Regions from separate parts of the Homo sapiens genome. Here region 1 is linked to region 2. Evidence: promoter capture Hi-C in 16 types of primary human blood cells and fetal thymus (Javierre and others, 2016). All regions are on one chromosome and are shown on one strand. The core of a region is centred on a gene start or on the middle of the fragment in contact, and the rest is flanking DNA. Distances in the headings are between cores, read along the strand shown.

The links. The method cuts DNA at HindIII sites, captures the fragments that hold promoters and counts their contacts. A CHiCAGO score of 5 or more calls a contact.
Region 1: a fragment that was not itself captured here is called in contact with the fragment with the promoter of TIMM8A in region 2 in 3 of 17 cell types (fetal thymus, non-activated CD4 T cells and naive CD8 T cells); the score reaches 6.9 in fetal thymus.

The regions. Positions count from the first base shown.
Region 1 is chrX:100,637,169-100,640,621 of GRCh38, forward strand. No RefSeq gene overlaps it. Among named protein-coding and RNA genes, the nearest start is that of TSPAN6, 2.1 kb to the left of the region's middle. The HindIII fragment of the contact is 1,323 bases long and covers 717-2,039 here.
Region 2 is chrX:101,347,384-101,350,596 of GRCh38, forward strand. TIMM8A (translocase of inner mitochondrial membrane 8A) reads right to left here and starts at 1,359. Exons shown (of 2, transcript NM_004085.4): 1 at 1,150-1,359. The coding sequence starts at 1,281. It overlaps BTK (Bruton tyrosine kinase), which reads right to left. Exons shown (of 19, transcript NM_000061.3): 19 at 2,067-2,573. The coding sequence ends at 2,502. RefSeq lists an enhancer at 1,281-1,330. The HindIII fragment of the contact is 777 bases long and covers 1,295-2,071 here.

The DNA.
Region 1 (3,453 bases), core at 128-2,627, 710 kb before region 2:
ACAAGAAATATATTTGCAAAAAGAAAGCGGATTGCAAAGCAATACATACAGTCACGTGTGCTTAGACAAAAACTGAAAGGAACAGTGAAATTTACCTCTGGTGGAATTAGGCTGATTTTTTTCTCACTTGTGTGCTTTTCAATTTGTGAACATTGTTTTATGGGTTAGGAAGGGGAGATGTGAATGGAGGAAAATAATCACCACTTGTTGAAAGAATTTCTAAGCTAGGTATTAAAGATAATAATGACTTTAGAATTTACCTGCAGGACTTTGCAAAACCCCAGTATTCCTCTCCTTTTTTATCCCCTAAGTAATTGGAAAGTTGAGGGAAAGTATTTTTACATAATAGTGAAATGTAAGTTCAGCTATTCGCTGTAAACTTTTAAAAAGAGAGAGTGCAATGGAAAAATCCCTGGTGAGTGTGACCTCCTCTTAAATGTTAAAACAGAAAGGCACTGTACATTCCAGCCACCTGGTTTTTCCCATCAAAACCCAGCTGATTACAGAGAGATTAAAACCTAATGTTATATATTGTGAATATATTGGTCTATGTTGTTACAACACAGGAGGTGCGTTAAGGTCTGATTTCTCAACTAAAGCGTCAGCTCTTTGAAGGCAGAGACTGAGTGTTAAGTGAGTTTGTGTTATCTCTAGAGGAACGGGGTTAGAAGGCTGTATCAGTTCCCTATGCAATCCAACCCTTCATCATTGACACAAGCTTAATATCACAAGTGGCTATTTACTCTATTGCCATTGCAAAAAGACCTGCATTTGTGGAGGAGAGATGAATACTCAAACTTTTCTGCTTGAAACGTTGCTTTAAACATACACCTCAGGACCAGAACACAGGAAAGTTCCATTGACTTGGTCACACAGAGCTTCCCTGTGCTTCGAATATTGACCTAGGACCAGTTCCTATAACATCTTGCCAGACGTCTGAGGTGCAAGGCAGCAACTGTTGGAAAATTAATTATTGCATTGCCAGGCTTTATACTAAAATTTTTACTAAAATTTGAAAGGCCTAATACACAAATACATGGAGAGAATGGATAAACGATACATCTACATACACCTTCAAACACTTTGAGGTAAAGTCGTTAGGAAATACCAAATATTCAACATGGTGGAGGGGGGTGTCTAAGTATATGCAAAGATTTCTCCCTAGGCTAAATGACCCCAACTGAAGGGTTCTTATACTAAAAACAAGGATCAAGGGAAGTCTTGATAACTTCTTGTCATCTTAAAGAGAAGTTTCTCTGAAACTTAGATATGTACTGAAAGGGATTTACAGTGTGAGCCCAAGAGCAAAGAAATATGTCTGTAGCTGAAGAAAAAACAAAATAGCAAAGCAAAAGCCACATCTTATTTCCAAGAATGTGTTGACTTTCCTCCTCTCCCTTCCTCTACCACTCACAACGCTGCTTTGTTTGAATAACACTCGGTGCCAAATTAAACCAAATGCTGACATGGAAATTCATATTCCTATGGCTACAACACCTTGCACCATTGCCTCCTACTCTGCTACACCCACTTCCATCTCCCCACCCCCACAATGCCACCAAACCGAGAAATTCAATTTAGTTCAAACCTAGGCCTGGGTTTGGGTACAAACCCAGACCAAAGGGGCATCTAATCCCGTTTAAGGCAATTTAAGAAGTATTTCCCTAGGCCACTAGATAAATGTATTCTTTAAAGTATTAATAATGACTGTGATAATAAGTATTGACTGTATACCAACCACTATTGCTAAGAGCTTGATACACATTACCTCGTATGCACACATCACAAGAACCCTATTATGAGGTTGACACACCTAGCACCTTCATTTTACAGATGAAGAAACAGGTTGAAAGAGACCAAGTAAGCTGCCTAGGACTAAACCTGGGCAACTTCTGTGTCTTTCATCAGAAATGGGGCCCACTTTGTGATGAAACATAGCTGCTGTTGTACGTACAGCTGCCTCTGCGCAGAGTAACCTGAGTAAAGACTGCTGTTGCACAGACATTTAACCTAAAACAAGGACTCCTCGGAGCCTCTGAAGCTTAAGAACCTCAATGATTGCCCCAATTCTGCCTTGCACTTGGGGTTTTTTGGTTGAGTTTGGCTTTTGCCTTCACTCCAATAGCCCAGCCACCTAGGAAGTAACCCTACCTGCCCCAGAGTGGTAAGGCAGAGAGTTCAGTACTTTTTCTTGTTCAACCTCTTAATTTCTCCCTCTTTCTGAGCACAGAAACACAATTTGATGCCAACAATGTAGGAAAAAAGGAAAATACTTTAAGTATTGTTACTGCTTGTTTTACATGGAACATTTAGTAGCCCCCCTTCCCAATTAATTTCCTGTAACCTTCAAGATTAGGTGTAAATGTTTTTCATTGCTAGACATCAGGCAAGGGAAATGACATAAACAAGGGCTCACTGTTAAGTCAGACCTCCCTTGTGCCACCTCCAGCCTCCCTCCATCCCTACCAAGCCCCTCATCCCAATACAATCTCAACTGATTTCCTACTGCTTTTCCAATGTGAATTTTCTGCTCTGTACCAGGTCAGTATGATCAACCCCCCAATTAAACAAGTCCTATTCCCTAGTCCCTGCCCACCCTCAACTTCACTCATACTTTCTGCTTCTACTGAATATCCAGTTCAATCCCAACTCAGTAAAAAGTCCCTCCTTCCTCACCTCTTTCTCTAACACCATAACTGTCTTAACTACACACTCACTCCCATTAACCCAGCCCTTTAGTCAATTACTGCAATATCTGCTTTGCATTTCTACTTACCTATTCTACATCCTACCGTCTAGATGTTCAGAAACTACTGAAGAGCTAGTGTGGCAGGGCCCCTATGCCCCCTTTTATACTCTCCTCAGTACCCTAGGACATAATGCCCAATTGATGAGTTCATTTTCTGCTCGGCCAATCCCTGTTGAGCTGATTGCTCATTGAGGTCATAACTGGTCTCTGGGAGCAACCACATAGTAATTACTCAGGATTGATTGTTGAAATTAAATAAAAAATTAAATGTCTAAGCCATCCCAGTATCACACTATAATAAAACAGAAAAAATTAAATTGAGTACCTAGATAATGTCTTGGGACATTCCTCTCTCTCTCAGGAACCACTAAAATAATAACAACAACAATAATAATAATAATAAACTGTATCGCTGAGTGTACATCTTATCTCTTATTCACATAATAACTTTACCATTTTCATTTTCTAATCCCTTTTCTAGCATCCCTTCAATTACCTTTGGCTAAGTGCCTATCATAGAATTTAAAGGCGCATCCTACTTATTTTCTTAATATCTCATATTTTATGTTACAGCCATCAGATACCTCATTATTTAAACAGTTAATTCATATGTACAGTTTTAAAAATCCATTTCGTTAATGGAATATCTCTTTATTTCTATTGTCTCTTGTGCATTCCCATTCTCCTTCTCTGAAATTCTATTC
Region 2 (3,213 bases), core at 109-2,608:
CTGAGTAGCTGGGATTACAGGCGGGTGCCACCCCGCCCAGCTAATTTTTTCTATTTTTAGTAGAGACAGGGCTTCGCCGTGTTGCCCAGACTGGTCTCGAACTCCTGACCTCAAGTGATCCACCCGCCTCCCAAAGTGCTGGGATTACAGGCATGAGCCACCGCGCCGGGCAGCTTACAGATTCTTGCAATAGTACTTAACCACACGCCCTCCTAGCCCCAAAGTAACGAATCACAGATATTTTTAAAAAAGAATCAAAGCACTCTGGTCCAAGGCAGACCAGAGTTAAGTAAGCATCTGGTAGGTGTCATAGTCCAGCAATACTGTAAGTTTATGGGAAAGGGCCTATGGAAACCAATGACTGTATATAGTTCAAGTTAAGTGGTTCAAAAATTTCGTTCATTATTCTCTGCCATGTACACAAGCCTCAGACCCTCTAATTCCAAGGAAAATTATCCTTGGCCTCTGAATTCTGTGAATTGTGTACATTAAGGGAGATCTGTCCTTGGCAAGCAGAACACGTTGTTGGCAAGCTGCAAATACCTTCCACCCTTTTGCCAAAGTCCCCTCACAGGGCAGGCTCAATTCCTCAACCTTCAGACCCAAAACGGCTTGGTATTACACAACAATCCAACAAGAAAGCAAATAAGTATGTACGTTGGAAGAGATTACACCACTTTTATAGTTACTGGGCTGGAGCCACTCATTTTTCAGCGGAGAGGGTTAGAACTGGGTAATGAAGGTAAATCCCGAGGAGTCCAGGAATAGCAGATTCACTGATTCACTGACTCTCTGGGACTCGGGCTGCCAAAAATAAAATCCCAGTACTGGGGGCTCCGATCAGTCTTGGTGACCAGCACTAGGCAGCTTCAACCTCGGGTGCCTGAAAGTGCTGGGTGTCCAGTGGCATAAGTCTTCTTTGATACCCAGTCCTCTACACCAACAAAGCCGAGGTCCGGAATGACAGTCCCCAGAGAAGCGGAGTCACCCTTCTCCCATCCGGCTAGGCCACAGGAACCTGAGAAAATCAAGGGTTGCTGCCAGGTGCCCGCCCCCCACCCCGAATCCCCGACGTTGTCGCGAGTCCCGCGGTACAAGGACAGAGGGAAAGTAGGTACAGTGTTCAGGTCCCAGCCCCAGGCTCCTCACCCAACAAAGTTCAGTCATCTGGTGCACCAGCTGCTGGAAGCGCTGCTTTTGAGTCTCTACCTCGATGAAATGCTGCAACTGCGGGTCCACTGCACCCAAACCCGCCGCGGAGGAAGAGGAGGAGGAATCCATCCCAGGGCGACCAAGCTTGCAGAGACGAACTCCGCACCGACCTTCACGTGTCTCCGCGACGGAACCGGAACCACAGCTAGCTGCCTCTGGGACCGCCCCCGTGAGTGCACTGCGTCGGCGCGAGGCAGGCGTCCAACTCCACCCCGCCGCCTCCCACACCTTGGCGCCGGTGCTTCGTTCCCGGAGTCGGCGGGTTCCACTCCCCGGACCCCGCAATCCCGTAACCCCGCAACCCTGCCGTTGCGCCCAGCCTTGCGCCTTGAGATCGCAGGGCTTACAGCCCAGAGCCGAGGTGCCGTTGAGATGTTACTCCAAAAAGAAAAGAAAGGAGAAAAGGAAGTTACTTCAGACCACGTGATCCATTCCGTGCTGGCCCCACAGCTCCGCCCCTGTCCACTTCCAAATTAGCCCGCGTTTTCTGAGCTACCAGAGTTGTGCACTGGGTCAGTTAGTTGACTGGGTCGATTAGTTGGCTATCCTGGGCCCCTGGCTTTCGTTTTTTGATGGAGTTTTCCTCTCCCGACGTAGGGAAATGAGGCTATGGCAGTTTGTGCCCAACTTTCAGATTCATTCAAATAACATTGCATGCGTGCTGTGACAGGCACTGTTTTTGCTTAATGCATCTTTGATTCAGAGGCAGGAGTTAACAAGAGGGCTTAAACCTGGAGGATCCTGTCGAGTTCTCAGTGTAGGAATATGCCAAACTAATGCTACACAGCAGCTTTCTGGAATACTGAGATAGGGCGCTTCAGGGAGGCTGCATGATTAATAGAGATACCAAAGACTTTCAAGCTTTCTAGTAATTTTATTTTATCAAAACACCCTCCCCTCCCATCTTTATGACACCATTTCATTCTTGCCAAATTCGGTCCACCCCCACACACACACCCCCAAGCTCTACCAAATGCCTACTCAAAGAGCTGTTGGACCCCTTTGTGCGGCTATTTACATCCTCCCTCCTAAAAAATATTTTCATCGCAAATTCAGTCTGTCTTAATTCTCTCGGGAAATTTCAGGCACAATAATTTCTTGGCCTTTGCTCAGAAGCCACTATCCCAGGGAATCAAAGAAGAGGTGCATTCCCAGATGTAGAGAGGGGCCTTTTTGTATTGAGTGGGAGCACAAAGGCTCCAGGGCTCCTAAGCTTGGGATTTCCTCTGAGAAAGTGAAATTGGGGCTTGTGGAGAAGAGAAGTAGAACCAAGAAGCTTATTGGCGAGCTCAGGATTCTTCATCCATGACATCTAGAATATTGCTCAGAAGAATTTTGAAAGTGGGACGCTCATCTGCTTTCTAAAACCAAAGAAAAAGTAAAGTGTTAGAGTGGCTAGAATCCAGAATTCAAGGGAAATGCAATGAGTAAGCAGCAAATGTTTATTAAATATATGCTCTATGCCCAGTAGCATGCCCTGTCGATTACAAAAGGAAAAAAAAAAAAAAAAGAAATAGCAGCTCTCCATAAAGTCTTTGTGCACTTTTCATCTTTAGTAACTCAGGTTATTAGTGTGATAAGAACAATTTGCAAATTAAACTGACAATCACACTGATCAAAATTGAGGGCAAGTTCATTATGTAACTGTATACAACACATTCTTATTTTGGATCCTCAAGTGAAAAATGGCTACCAAACAAGTTCAAGTGGTTGGCAGAACAGAAATCCCATGTGATAATTTTTAGTGATTAATATTTCAAAACCACAGGCTGTATTACTGAGCAGGGATTCTGAGTACCTGGGACCTTTTTTTTTTTTTTTTTTTTTTTACCACTGGTAACAAAAAGACTAAGGTTTTTTTTTTTTTTTCTTTTTGAGACAGAGTCTCACCCTGTTGTCCAGGCTGGAGTGCAGTGGTGTGAGCTCAGCTCACTGCCACCTCCCAGGTTCAAGCGATTTTCCTGCCTCAGCCTCCCAGGTAGCTGGGATTACAGGTGCACG